5 separate regions of the Homo sapiens genome follow, and regions 1, 2, 3 and 4 are each linked to region 5. Evidence: promoter capture Hi-C in 16 types of primary human blood cells and fetal thymus (Javierre and others, 2016). All regions are on one chromosome and are shown on one strand. Each heading gives the region's core, a stretch centred on a gene start or on the middle of the fragment in contact. The rest is flanking DNA. Distances are from core to core; before and after follow the strand shown.

Evidence for each region. Contacts are between HindIII fragments. The CHiCAGO score rates a contact against its expected background, and 5 or more counts as called.
Region 1: a contact is called between a fragment that was not itself captured here and the fragment with the promoter of H4C8 in region 5, in 1 of 17 cell types (M2 macrophages). The highest score is 5.7, in M2 macrophages.
Region 2: a contact is called between a fragment that was not itself captured here and the fragment with the promoter of H4C8 in region 5, in 1 of 17 cell types (monocytes). The highest score is 5.3, in monocytes.
Region 3: a fragment that was not itself captured here is called in contact with the fragment with the promoter of H4C8 in region 5 in 2 of 17 cell types (monocytes and naive CD4 T cells); the score reaches 7.5 in monocytes.
Region 4: the fragment with the promoter of BTN2A1 here is called in contact with the fragment with the promoter of H4C8 in region 5 in 11 of 17 cell types (naive B cells, non-activated CD4 T cells, M0 macrophages and 8 more); the score reaches 8.0 in naive B cells.

What each region holds. Positions count from the first base shown.
Region 1 is chr6:26,509,902-26,512,626 of GRCh38, reverse strand. BTN1A1 (butyrophilin subfamily 1 member A1) reads right to left here. Exons shown (of 8, transcript NM_001732.3): 8 at 2,202-2,725. All of the region lies in intron 1 of LOC107986583 (a long non-coding RNA gene), which reads left to right. Among named protein-coding and RNA genes, the nearest start is that of TRL-CAG1-7, 9.9 kb to the left of the region's middle. The HindIII fragment of the contact is 1,482 bases long and covers 633-2,114 here.
Region 2 is chr6:26,091,409-26,094,108 of GRCh38, reverse strand. It overlaps HFE (homeostatic iron regulator), which reads right to left. Exons shown (of 6, transcript NM_000410.4): 3 at 2,520-2,700; 4 at 1,149-1,424; 5 at 877-990. Among named protein-coding and RNA genes, the nearest start is that of HFE, 5.3 kb to the right of the region's middle. The HindIII fragment of the contact is 3,702 bases long and covers 1-2,700 here.
Region 3 is chr6:26,063,670-26,066,449 of GRCh38, reverse strand. No RefSeq gene overlaps it. Among named protein-coding and RNA genes, the nearest start is that of H1-2, 8.6 kb to the right of the region's middle. RefSeq lists a silencer at 1,684-1,823. The HindIII fragment of the contact is 1,676 bases long and covers 510-2,185 here.
Region 4 is chr6:26,456,658-26,459,447 of GRCh38, reverse strand. BTN2A1 (butyrophilin subfamily 2 member A1) reads right to left here and starts at 1,493. Exons shown (of 8, transcript NM_007049.5): 1 at 1,306-1,493; 2 at 730-841. The coding sequence starts at 811. RefSeq lists enhancers at 1,303-1,462, 1,623-1,882. The HindIII fragment of the contact is 11,033 bases long and covers 1-2,790 here.
Region 5 is chr6:26,284,152-26,286,851 of GRCh38, reverse strand. It overlaps H4C8 (H4 clustered histone 8), which reads left to right and starts at 1,318. Exons shown (of 1, transcript NM_003543.4): 1 at 1,318-1,726. The coding sequence starts at 1,353. The coding sequence ends at 1,664. It overlaps TRX-CAT1-2 (tRNA-iMet (anticodon CAT) 1-2), which reads right to left and starts at 326; the gene lies at 255-326. It overlaps LOC124901287 (a long non-coding RNA gene), which reads right to left and starts at 1,172. Exons shown (of 2, transcript XR_007059520.1): 1 at 799-1,172. RefSeq lists a silencer at 538-587 and enhancers at 928-1,317, 1,468-1,627, 1,006-1,741, 834-2,033, 1,742-2,477. The HindIII fragment of the contact is 3,784 bases long and covers 1-2,020 here.

The sequences.
Region 1 (2,725 bases), core at 124-2,623, 230 kb before region 5:
GCTTGTATCTAAATACACACTTGAATGTAATGTATAACCCCAAGCGAATTCCCATTTGACCCCCTTTTCTCTCCCCTCAGCTCCAGAAACAAGCCCATTTTCCTCTTTCTGGCTGATACCATCCATTCTTCAACTTGAGAGTCCTCTTCTCTGTGGCCCACACTAGAATGCAATGCAGGCTCACAGCTTCTCCACTGCCTACTTGCCCCTAAAAGAAATAGAATGCTTTGGAGGATTTTAATATTGCAGAAATAGATGCTGGATTTAAGCAAGTAAGTGCAGGGAGGATTATAATGTATTCTGAAAGTATTAGAGTGGTATTTACTTTCATAATACATCATAATGTATTATAAATAGATCGAGCAATTTCTTTTAGCTCCTTTTTTTAGTCTTCTCTTTCCTCTTCTCGGAATCCCAGTTTCGTTCAAACATCCCTTTTAAATCCGGGGACTGATGCTACTAAGCCTCCTCCTTCCTTCAATAGACTTTACTCTTGATTTTATCCAACCTATCCTGCAAATACATGTTTACTGATTTATTATAAAGGATATTACAAAGTATACAGATGAAAAGACAGATGGAAAATATGTACAGGGCAAGATGTGTGGGAAGGGGCATGCAGCTCCGAAGCTTTCTCTGTGCACACACTGCCCTCCAGAAACCTCCGTGTGTTCAGCTATCCAAAAGGCCAGAGTGCCAATGGCTACCTACCCTCTGCCCCTGTTTGGGTGGTGAACTTCATTTCTACTACTGTAAAGGTAACCTGGTCAATGGTATAGGTAAGTGAAGCCAACTCTTTAACAGTACTTTTGCAAGAGGAGGAAATATTTGGGAAATCTTTAATGTTAAGGCCTTGTAATTAAAAGAAAAAAAATGGGGTGGGTGATCTTTGGATATTATTTGATATAGTTTGGATCTGAGTCCCCACCCAAATCCCATGTTCAATTGTAATCCCTAATGTTGGAGGTGCAGCCTGTTGGGAGGTAATTAGATCATGGGGGCGGTTTCTCATGAGTGGTTTAGCACCATCCCCTCAGTGCTATTTTTTTGGGAGACAGAGTCTCTCTCTGTCGCCTAGGCTGGAGTGAAGTGAGTGGCATGATCTCGGCTCACTGCAACCTCTGCCTCCCAGGTTCAACCGATTCTCCTGCCTCAGCCTCCCAAGTAGCTGGGACTACAGGCATGTGCCACCAAGCCCGGCTAATTTTTTTGGTATTTTTAGTAGAGACGGGGTTTCACCATGTTAGGCTGGTCTTGAACTCCTGACCTCAGGTGATCTGCCTGCCTCGGCCTTCTAAAGTGCTGGGATTACAGGCGTGAGCCACCATGCCCGGCCAATGCTATTTTTGTGATAGTGAATGAGTGACTAATTATGACATCTGATTGTTTAAGAGTGTGTAGCACATCCCCCGCTCCCCCCTCTCTCCTCCCCCGTCCCTGCTGCTGTCTTCCTTCTGCCATGGCCATGTAAGATGTGCCTGCTTCCCCTTCGCCTTCTGCCATGATTGTAAATTTTCTGAGGCCTCCCCAGAAGCTGAGCAGAAGCTGTCATGCCTACATAACTATGAGCCAATTAAACTTCTTATCTTTTTTTTTTTTTTTTTTTTAAATGGAGTCTTGCTCTGTCACCCAGGCTGGAGTGCAGTGGCGCGATCTCAGCTCACTGCAACCTCTGCCTCCCGGGTTCAAGTGATTCTCCTGCCTCAGCCTTCTGAGCAGCTGGGATTACGGGTGCCTGCCACCACACCCGGCTAATTTTTGTGTTTTTAGTAGAGACGGGGTTTCACCATGTTTGTCAGGCTGGTTTCAAACTCCTGACCTCGTGATCCACCCGCCTCGGCCTTCCAAAGTGCTGGGATTACAGGCATGAGCCACCGTGCCCGGCCTAAACTTCTTATCTTTATAAATTACCCAGTCTCAGGTATTTCTTTACAGAAATATGAGGATGGACTAATAAAAAATTGTTCCTGAGTTGAGATTCTGTATTCCTGCTTGAAGACCCTGGTAAGCAGTTGTTCCCTCATGAGGCATCAGCCCCCATGTGCACCTGCCCTGGTGAGCCCACTGCCATCAGGCCTAGGGATGGGTCTTAGACCACATACAATGGCAAAGCTTTAGACAGCTGCATTCCCATGCAGGTTTCTTGCCCTATGTTTTATTTTGTTTCAGTTGATATTAAAAAAGAAAGGTTAAGAGGTTGCTTTCAGCAATCAGACAAACTTATTTATTAGGTAAAGACGATGAGCAACGTCTATCCTGGAAACTGGAGAATACGATGGAAATGGAAGGTATAAGCCTGGAGTCTATTGGCAAGACAAGCCACATGTGTAAAGGAAAGTGCTCAGGGGCAAATACACAGGTGCAATCAGTCCAGCTGCACTGAACACAATGATGCAGCATTCAGGGGACCCTGAGGAGAGGCAGCATGTAGGAAAGCTGGGTAGGGAAAGTGAAAGGTGCACAGTGTGGAAACGGAGGCAGTTGAAGCTAACTGAAGGTGTGTGTAAGGGGTTTGGGCATTGAGATGAGGGCTGAGGTGACATAAGGTTGAGATGGTGACTGAGCAAGTGGTGATATCACTGAAGGATGACTTCTAGGAATGTCTTTGAAATAGAGAGATGCTATAACAAAAAGAAGAGGACAACTGGAAACTTGTGGATCAACAAATTGAGGGTGGAATGACTTCCAGGCAAGGGAGAAACAGGAGGGCGCAGAGAAAGGAACA
Region 2 (2,700 bases), core at 101-2,600, 190 kb after region 5:
CTCATTCACCCATCTCAATTTAGACCTGGGCACTATTGGATTTCAAGAACCATTATCTCTCATCTGGAAATGCTTATTGGCTTTCTAACTGGTCTCCTCACCTCTCATCTAACTTCTTAACAACACATTCACCATATAAGGGAGATCGTGGTCCTCCTTTCTTAGGATCCTTCAATGACACCCCAGTGATCATAACCCAATATCCCAAAAGACCCTTGGACTCTGTATGAGCTGGCTTCTTTCTGATTCTCTTTTCCCTACACCACAGATGTTCAGGGGGTAGAAATGCATAATTGGTGAGTGATAGCTACGCAAACTCAGGGTTAAGGTACAGTAATTATTTCTAATCTCCCAGTATGCCTTATACTCTCCTACTTGGCATGGTTGCTCCGTCTGTGTAGACCTCCCATCATCTTCAACCTCACCTAATGGAATCCAGCTTCTCCTTCAAGATCCAGAAGGCTATCTTGATCCCCAGCTGAATGTGATCATTCTTTCCTTTGACACCCTAAGCATTTGCTTCCTGCCTGCTTTAGGACCTCATGGGGTCTTCTTTAACTACATTTACTTGCTATCAATTTCATTCCCTACCAGATTTGGGTTCTGAGAATAGCCACAGTGACTTCTCAACCTCAAAGCCCCTGTACTACCTTAAACAGCTCTTGCAAAATAGTAGGTGCTCTGAAGATGTTTGTTGAATTAGAGACTTTCATTCTGGGGAGAACCATTATTTTCTGTCTCCCAGGGAGCTGCTGGTGTCCCCAAAGAATATAAATGAGAAAAATGCTTCCCATGGATGCCAGATCCCCTCTGCCCCTCTTCCCACTGTGCCCTGGGGCAGAGGTACTAAGAGACTTCCCCCTTGTTCCTACTCACTTGAACCCTGCCTCTTCCTTAATATTATGAACAAAATTCCAATGAACAAGATGACGACAAAAACAGCAATTCCACTGATGACTCCAATGACTAGGGTGCCAGACGGTGAGGGCTCTAAAACAGAAAAAGCAAGTTAAAGCCTTTGATTGCCACCCTCAGCCCACCCCCTAACAAAGAGCAGATCCTCATCTCACTGCCATAATTACCTCCTCAGGCACTCCTCTCAACCCCCAATAGATTTTCTCAGCTCCTGGCTCTCATCAGTCACATACCCCAGATCACAATGAGGGGCTGATCCAGGCCTGGGTGCTCCACCTGGCACGTATATCTCTGCTCTTCCCCAGGGGGTACAGCCAAGGTTATCCAGCCCTGGTAGGTCCCATCCCCATTGGGCAATACGTCTTTAGGTTCGAACTCCTTGGCATCCATTGGCTGCTTATCCTTCAGCCACTTCATGGTGATGTTCTGGGGGTAGTAGTTCAAGGCCCGACACCGTAGAGTGGTCACTGAAGAGGTCACATGATGTGTCACCTTCACCAAAGGAGGCACTTGACAGGAAAGAGGAAGGATGAGGAGAGGGGATCTGTTTACCCTTGCCAGGAAGACTGGAACTTTCACTTCCTTCTATAGGTTGGAGGAAGGAAATACCCTTTTCAGAAAAAAACAAGCTACAGGAGAGACACCATTTTGTGTCCTAAGATTGGACTCTAACACAGTGTCACTTGGAGAGCAGTCAGATCAGCTTGTTCTCCTCACATGTAAATATACATATCTGTTACCCATGTTCTTTGTTCTGATAGATAAAATTGCCCTTTATGTGCATTGAAAATGATTGAATACAGATGGTCAGTTTCACCTGGGTCAACCTAGGAGGCATTGTTATAAGAAGCGGACTTGTAAGATAGGTAGCTTCAGTGATTATTGCTATGTTCTATGAAAGAAACTTTTAACCTAAAGGATTCTTCTACTCTGATAAGTGGCCTCACTTGATATTTTGTCCTGGTATTCATATGATAGCTGAGATCTCTGAATTCTCTTTTTTTTTTTTTTTTTTTTTTTAAGATGGAGTCTCACTCTGCTGCCTAGGCTGGAGTGCAGTGGCGCGATCTTGGCTCAGTGCAACTTCCGCTTCCCAGGTTCAAGCGATGCTCCTGCCTCAGCCTTCCAATTAGCTGGGACTACAGGTGCGCATGACTGTGACCAGCTAATTTTTGTATTTTTTTAGAGACGGGTTTCACCATGTTGGTCAGGCTGGTCTCAAACTCCTGACCTTGTGACCACCCGCCTCGGCCTCCCAAAGTGCTGGGATTACAGGGGTGAGCCACCGTGCCCGGCCTTGACATTTCTGAATTTTTAACAGGTATAAATATACAAAAGATTATTGGTTAAATAAAAAGCAAGGGCCATAGACACTTCCCTTTGAGCCATATGCATGGAGAAAAGAAATTAAACCCATGACTTGTGGCTGTCTCATACATCTCAATTATAAGGTAGAGACTCTAGGATTGAGAAAGTCCCTTCCCAGAATTTGGAGAGGCACACAGCCTCAGCCACCTCTGAAACTCCAACCAGGGATTCCGTGCCCTGCAACCTCCTCCACTCTGCCACTAGAGTATAGGGGCAGAAGTGTGTTTCCACCATACCTTGTTGGTCCAAAACACCTCTCCCCAGCTCCAGCAACTGCTGCAGCTGTGCAGGGCAGTCCCTCTCCAGGTAGGCCCTGTTCTGCCTGGCCCGAATCTTGTGCCTTTCCCACTCCAGCTTGGTGGGCCAGGCCCTGGGTTCTGCTGCTCTCCAATCCAGTGTGTCAGGGCAGAATTCAAG
Region 3 (2,780 bases), core at 98-2,597, 220 kb after region 5:
TATTTCCACTACCAGCGTAGTTATCATTTCTACTGCTTAATAATTGTTTTGGGGAAGTGAATGCATCAACCCACATGAATTTCTTGTCTATTTGACAATTTATTCTCTTTAGGAATAGTATTAACTCCTAAGGTCCTGGGAGCCAGTCTCTGTACTTGGCTGCTCCAGGGTCCTACTTCAGTTTCCCAGCTTCTCAGTACTGTCACTGTCAATTGTGGGTAATAATTATTTTTGTCCACCAAAAGACTCTGTATGTGAATGAGTTTTGAAATCTGCTGAGTAATACAGTGTCAACCCAGTTAATGATTTGCCGGGCGGCTTGATCAGGGGCTGTCCAACTACCGGCATTTTGATTTGGAGCGTCATCTAGTGTCTGAAAGCACAAACAACATCCTACATTGTAAATGCCTTTGGCTACAGAGATTGAAACCAAAGCAAACCTATGTTTTGAATTGTTATTCTTCAGCAGTTCTGCTAGCTTTGAAAAATCTAAAAGTTAAAAAAAAGCTTTATATTTCATTTTCTGCCTAAACTCTTTAAAATTGCTAGTTGACAATTAGATATTTTCAATTTAATGAAATTTTTTTTTAGTTCACAGATTAATACACAATGGGGGAGGGTTCTTATTCTGTTGGACTTTTACATAACCTCCACTTTAGTGCAGTCTGCTTTATGGGGTCTTGTTTGAGGTGTGTGTGTGTTTAAGGGAATGTGGTTTACAATCAAAATATTGGGTTGCTCTTAGGCACATTGTAAAGTCACACACCTGTATTCTTATTGATACATAATGATTAATAACATTATTATTACAGCCTGATCACCATCATTATTGATATATCTAAATAATGAATTTTATAATTTTGCTTCCTGTCAGGCAAGAGCCAATTTCAGTGCTACCATGTTTGTATAGCAGTATTTATGTCTGTCATCCTCAGTCATTTTACTTCACTTGTTCTTAGCCAAACGGCCGAGAAGCGATGGTCATTTTACTTCAAAAATGAAAAGAATTAATATTTTTACGTTTCCCTTAAAGACCCTATGTTTAACCTCCACTCCTGGGTAAAATGGTCTAGTCCCTCCTTTTCATATCATCTCTGATATCTTTTGCACAGCCACTATTACCTACCGTTTTCTAGATCCCTATTCTTCAAACACCACCATGAAGGTAGAGCCTGTCTGAATTATTTTCTTGTCCCCTGAACTCAGTACATTGTTAGGCTTCTTGAAGATGTTGATCAGTTGTTTGTGGAGTGAATGAATCAGCTAGCATGATTTTTCTAGACCACTGAGACAAGTGTCTAAGACACTTGTTCCTTCCCATGTTCTTGCCTGCCTGTGCAATCCATGCAGTCTCATGGCTTCCCAGTGCCTCAGAATTATCCCCTGTCAAACAGGCATTATAATTTCTGTCCACTGAAAAGGACAAAAAACTAAGTGTATAGCTAGAAGTTAAAAATTACCGGCCAGGTACTGTGGCTCACTCCTGTTATTCCAACATTTTGGGAGGCTGAGGCGGGCAGATCACCTGAGGTCAGGAATTCGATACCAGGCTGGCTAACATGGCGACCCCGTCTCTATCAAAAATGTAAAAGTTAGCCAGGTGTGGTGGCTCGCACCTGTGGCCCCAGCTACTCAGGAGGCTGAGGCAGGAGGATCGTTTGAGCCCTGGAGGTTGAGGCTGCAGAAAAATAGGAATATACTCTCTTTCAAGAGTTCGTGGTTTTGACTGCCACCTAGCGTACATCAGAAAAACCGCATGACATAGGAAATGCCTGTGACAGAGGGGTAAGGTGAGAGAGGTTGATGAAGAATGTATTGAAGGAGTGAAAACGCTTCCATCCCTCTACTTACTAAATATATTAGTTAAGTAGTTGGGGCATATTTTAATTCATGCATTTTGTAGATAGAAAAACAAAAGTTTTATTCTGTTTGATTTAGTTGATACTTTAATATGTGTGTGTTTAGGATGCATGATTTATAATCAGTCTGCAGCACTTCTTGGAGAAGTCTGAATTCTCATTCTCCATTTCCTTATTGGCAACGTGAGAATGATTACAATGGTGGTTGTCTCATAGAATGCAGGGAGTCAGAATGAAAATAGTCCATATAATGCCTGGTGCAGAGGAAGGGTTCAGTTAACTGTCTGTATTAATATTACTGATAACAGTCATGACAAACAAAAGCTTAACAACAACACCACCAACAACAGTTGCAGAATTGAGCCACCAATTTGCACACAAGATTGTAGGTAGGATGTTTTAGAAAAGTTATTATTTAATATATGTATATATTTTTGTACTTAAAATATGTCAGAGGTTGTTCTAAGAACTATTTAAATGTTAACTCCTTAATCCTCATAATGACCCATGAAACAGGTAGGCTTATTATTGTCTCTTTACATGTGAGAACACTGAGACACGAAAAGGTTTATTAACTCACCCAAAGTCACACAGCTGGTAAAACGGCAAAATTGAATTTGAACTCAGACATTCCAGGTTCCAAGACAGTCTAATTATTCTTTTGACTAATATACTAAGCTGCCTCTGTATTTTTCCTTGATTACTTTGTAAAAGTATGAGGAAAATATAAGTGCTTCAAGTAACCATGAAAAATATAAACAATCTATGTATCAACTGAAGCATAATTACAAATCCTTTGATAAGCAAACATAATAAAAATTTGATATCAATCAAAACTTTCATGTAATGTAAGCAGGTTGAGATGAATTCTATAGTAAAAAAGTGCAGAGTGCTGGAATACCATGCTCCTAATATATTGGC
Region 4 (2,790 bases), core at 244-2,743, 170 kb before region 5:
ACCAGCCATCACATCTCTAAGGCAAGAAAGGAAGCAGATATTCTAGGGACAAACTTATTTTTTCCATGGCCATAGGGTCTCTTTGGGCTGAGAAATCTGGGGACCAGTAGCTGTGGCTAGTCGACAGCACCCCTGGGAGCAGTAACTATAAAGTGTGCTTCTGCTTCATGAAGGAAACCCTGAGGAACCTGCCCTGAGCACCCTCTGTCCACCCTGTGCCCTTGAGGGGATTTTCCTCGATTTCCCAATCTAGTGCTGTGCCTGAGTGTACTGTAAACTTGAGCCGTGCAATAGGACACATATCCACTAGCTAGTTCCAACTGAAATGAGCTGTAAGTGTAAAATACACACAGGATTATGAAGATTTAAAATTTCAAAATGTTGACTATCTCATTGGTAATATGGTATATTAACTAAGTATTTAAATATTCGTATTTGATTATTTGGGGCGAAACAAAATATAGTATACAAATTTATTTCATGTTTCTTTTTACTTTTTAAAATAAAAAGTAAAATTTAATTTTTTTTGAAAATTTGCAATTGTACATGCACTCGGCCTTTGTGCCTCACTGTATTCCTTTTGGACAGTGCTGGTATAAATTCAATGAACATGTTCAGAATGAAAGGGTAAGTCAACAACTCCACAGTCCTTCTTTCTTTCCCTTTGCAGACTACAGGGTTGATGTTCCTTTCTGATAGGTGACAGCAGCAAGTGGCACACATCCCTACCTGAGACCAGTGCACACAGGCTGAGGAGGAGGAGGAGGAGGGAGGCTGGCCGGGAGAAGTGCAGGGCAGCAGCTGATTCCATGAGCACCCAGAGCAGGCAGGGACAGGAGGCCTAGGGTTACAGAGGAGAATCAGCCTAGGAGTCTTGGCACCTCAGTGCTGGTCGGGCCCAACCTCTCCCGTCACTCAAGTAGGTCTCATCAGTGCCCCAACTTCAGGGAGTCCCCTGCATCCGAAGGCTCAGGTATGTCCCGAGAGAGGGATTCCTTAAACATTCCATGAAGTAAGCCATCAATGCCAAGATCAAGGGGGCCTTTTTCCGCCCTCCTCGGCTCACTTCTCTGGCCAGAATGCAGTTTCTTCAGTTGTCGCTGGATTCTACCACACCCTCCTCCCTTCACTTCCTCCTCCCCGCGACCCAGGCCGGGCAGCCTGAGGCAAAGACAGGCGAGGCCGCGCCTCCCCACCGGTGGGCTTTCCCTGTCCCAGGACCCCGTCTCGTGTCCACAGCAGACCCCGCTTCCCCCACCTACTGTGCCCACCCCGGAGCTGTAGCGCCTCCCCTCCGTTTCCTACCTTCTAGAATTAAACGTTGCTTTTTCTTTTCTCCGCTGGTTCTCGACGATTCTCCAGTCGTCCCTCTTCTCTCCAATCTGCCCAGGGGCACAGGCACTACTAGACACAAACCTTCCCAAAAGAGGAGAAAAAATTGTTCTTCCCCTTCTCCTAGGTCGCCATGTTTGGAGATGCAGGAAACGAAATCTGGTCTCCTGGGCTTCCACAGTCCCAAGAGTTCCCTAAGTATTTTAGAGCCCAGGATTGGCCGGGTGTGAGTGAACCAGCCAATGGTGTCGAACCTTATTTCTCAGCAGTTGCTGGGTAGAATACACCGAATCACAAATTTCAAGCAGCAAATAACCTTTTGAGATTATCGGGTCTTTTTATTTCCTTTTTCTTTGTTCGAAAGCAAGACTCTCTCTCTCTCTCTTTCTCTCTCAAGACTCTCTCTCTCTCTCTCGCTTTGAGATTCCTTGGGGAGATTCCCTGGGGTTTGTCACTGAGGTCGGTGGCTTTGCTGGTGTCCACAAGGAGAGGCCTCTCTATGTAGAGGGCAATTTTGCTGGGGAGGAAACATGAGCAGGAAAACGTAAGCCGCCCCCTTTCCAAAGCCAGAGGACTCCTGTTCAAGTTGCTGGCTTTGGAGGTTGGGCCTGGAGCGCAGGAGGGCTTGGGGGAAGCTGGCATGGCTGGAGCGGGAGGGGTAGCAAAGGAAAGGAGACAGCAGTTGCAGTGGCTGTTATGAAGGCCTTGCCATTCATTCCAAAGCTATCGGATAAGAGGTGCTGAGAATCCTGACTGAGGATCAAAAACCTTTTCCCTCAGGGAGGTGGCATTCTGGTGGTGGCAGAAGATGGAATTGAGCAAAACTTTCTAGTTGTCCTTCACCTTCTAGATAGTAGGTGGTCAGGTTGGGTCCAAGAGCCACACACAGACACACACACTAGCACACATACCATCCTCCCGTAAACATCATCCCTCTCCCAAAGGCTCCAATCTTGTAATTGTAAAGATATCTTCCAGAATAATCTTCCCGAGGCCCAGTTGTCAATATTCCCCTCAAGTGTCTAAATGCTTAGTCTGGAGGCCTCCAATTCCCTTCTGATTCAATTCAAAACTTTGCAGTTAATACGCTAGCAATGGCTCCACAGTGGCCTTGCATCACAACGTTGCACTCCCTGTGGCCAGTGCTCCTTTTCCCATGCCATGGCTTTCATTTCAATTGCTTGCTCCATCTCTGCCCCGTGAAATCCTGCCCAGCCTTCGTGCCTACTTCCTCCAAGAACAACTCTGAATGTTCCTGCCTGAAGTGTTCTCGGCCTCTTCTGACACCCAAATCTTTTGCTGTTCCCACGTCCTGTCTTGTATTATTGTTACTCAGGTATCCACTGTGTCTCTGCTGTGACAGGAGTACCTGCTTCTCAGGACAGACTTCTGCAGGATGTGATTCCTCTCACCTTACAGGGCCCAGCTCTAAGCTCTAAGCTCTGCTCTTAGCTGTTG
Region 5 (2,700 bases), core at 69-2,568:
CTCTAAACAAGAGAAATTTGCTTTGTTTACAGATGACATATTGATTAATGACACTTGGGTGTCCATGAAAATCAAAATTGTACATGCAGAGATTGTAGTTTCACATTATTTCCCGGAAATGCTTGTAATTCTGGAATTAAAGAAATACTCGGGTTCATTTTGTTTTCTTTCGTCATTGTTTAACCTAAAAAACTGTAACTTAAAAAAAAGGGATCCTCAGGAAAATAGACGGGGGGGGAGAAAAAAAAAGGACCTAGCAGAGGATGGTTTCGATCCATCGACCTCTGGGTTATGGGCCCAGCACGCTTCCGCTGCGCCACTCTGCTGTTCTGCCAGGCACACGGTCTCACAGTACTCTTAACTACTTACAGGAGATGCGTTCAGACTACCTCGTAATTTAAGAAAAAACCTACGAGCAGTTGCCTACTTCTTTGGCTACCACAGGTTGCCAACTCACTTTGGAAAAAGGAATCACCAGAATCAAACAGAAAACAAAACTAGGGATAGAAAAATAAATATCAATACACTGGTGGGCTAGGCGCGGTAGCTCACGCCTGTAGTCACTGCACTTTGGAAGACCCAGGCAGGCAACATAGCGAGACCCTGTCTCAATAAAATTAAAAAAAGGAAAAAAAAAAACCCCCACCCCGAAACCTACACACTGGGTGCAGTTGTGAGGGGCAGTTAGATATTTAAATGGCAATTACAAATTTTAATAAGCAGGGAAAGAAGAGAACAAACTGGGAATAGAATCAGGCCTCCGCGCGGAGGGCAATAATTCTACCACGAATCACTAACCTATCATGCCTTCGCCATCGGGAAGAAAACCCTTTTGGTTATGTTTCCCTTGGCTTGGTGATGGAGAGGGTGAAATCTTGCAGTTTTCAAACACTTCCGAAGGGGGGTTTCGGTCCGCATGTGCTTTACAGCCGGCAGCAGAAAGCCAGTCACTGTGACCTTGGGGACAAAGCTGCACTCCTCAGGCTTCCGGTCTTGTGGACCGAGGCTCCTCTCCAATCGTCCTAAAGCAACTGAAGGAACAATTGATAACAATTTAAACATGTTAATTTATTTAATCTGATTTGGTTGTTAAAACAGCCTTAAAACTCTCATTCCTATTTCCCAGCAATTGCAAGAGACGCCTCCGCGGAGCCGGCGCTCAGATGCCAAAGGCTGGAGTCGTTGGTGACGTCATCCAGGGCTGGGCTATGCGGGGTGGGGCCAAGAAGCAGGACCAAAGTTCCGGTATGCGCGCTTTCAGTCTTCAATTAGGTCCGAATTCCCGGCATATAAGGGCGTTGCTTTGCCTTGGCGTTTAGGTTTCTTAAGTTGGTTTTAGAAGTTGCTTAGTCATGTCTGGCCGTGGTAAAGGTGGAAAAGGTTTGGGTAAGGGAGGAGCTAAGCGTCATCGCAAGGTTTTGCGCGATAACATCCAGGGCATCACTAAGCCAGCTATCCGGCGCCTTGCTCGTCGCGGCGGTGTCAAGCGAATTTCTGGCCTTATCTATGAGGAGACTCGTGGTGTTCTGAAGGTGTTCCTGGAGAACGTGATTCGTGACGCTGTCACTTACACAGAGCACGCCAAACGCAAGACCGTGACAGCAATGGATGTGGTCTACGCGCTGAAGCGACAGGGACGCACTCTTTACGGCTTCGGTGGCTAAGGCTCCTGCTTGCTGCACTCTTATTTTCATTTTCAACCAAAGGCCCTTTTCAGGGCCGCCCACTTTTTTCATAAAAGAGCAGACATCTTGTTATCCTGCTTTGTTCCAGATTTTTGCTGAGAAGTAGTTACTGTGCACATGTGTAGATTTGCAGGTAACGTTTAATTACTCGTGCTTAATCTCGCATGTTTAGGATTTGGGCATAAAGTACTTAAAGCCACTGTTTTCTGCTTGAGGGAAGTTGGTATGTTGAATATGTTTAGCTTTCTTGTGGCATTTTAACACTAGATATCAGTGAGTAAGCTGGATTGTGACAGTTTATAATTCCCGTGGGCCTTCCTCCTTCAGTTTAAGCTTGAAGCGTTCGTAAGGTTCTCAAAGACTACAGAAGTTGGAAACTTCGCGGAGAGACTGCAAGTTACCCTTTCCAAAATGGCGGGAAGGGCTAAAAACAAAGAAAGCTCGCACCCAGACGGCGGGCCTTAAACCAAGGCGAATCCGTGAGCGCAACACATCTGCGTGAGTAGGATCGCAGACCCAAGTCCAGGCGGCGTGCGCGCTGCTGCTTTTGACTTGGTGACAAAACTCGTCTACAAAAGGCAGTGTGGGGTAACAATATAAATGTTCACTTGAGAGCTTGCAAGTATTGTTTCCAATAGACTTAAAATGTGTTTTTGAATATTACGAAAATATTAAAAGGTAGGGTACCGCTTAGTGAGCAATATAGAAACATCACCATAACTTATTTTGTTGTTGTTGAGACGGAGTTTTGCTCTTTCATCCAGGCTGGAGTGCAGTGGCGCGATTTCGGCTCACCGCAACCTCCGCCTTACAGTTTCAAGCGATTCTCCTGCCTCAGCCTCCTGAATAGCTGGTATTACAGCCGCCCGCCTAATTTTTGTGTTTTTAGTAGAGATGGGGTTTCACCATGTTGGCCAGGCTGGTCTCGAACTCCTGATCTCGTGATCCACCCGCCTCGACCTCCCAAAAGTGTTGGGATTACAGGCATGAGGCACTGCGCCCGGCCACGAAAACT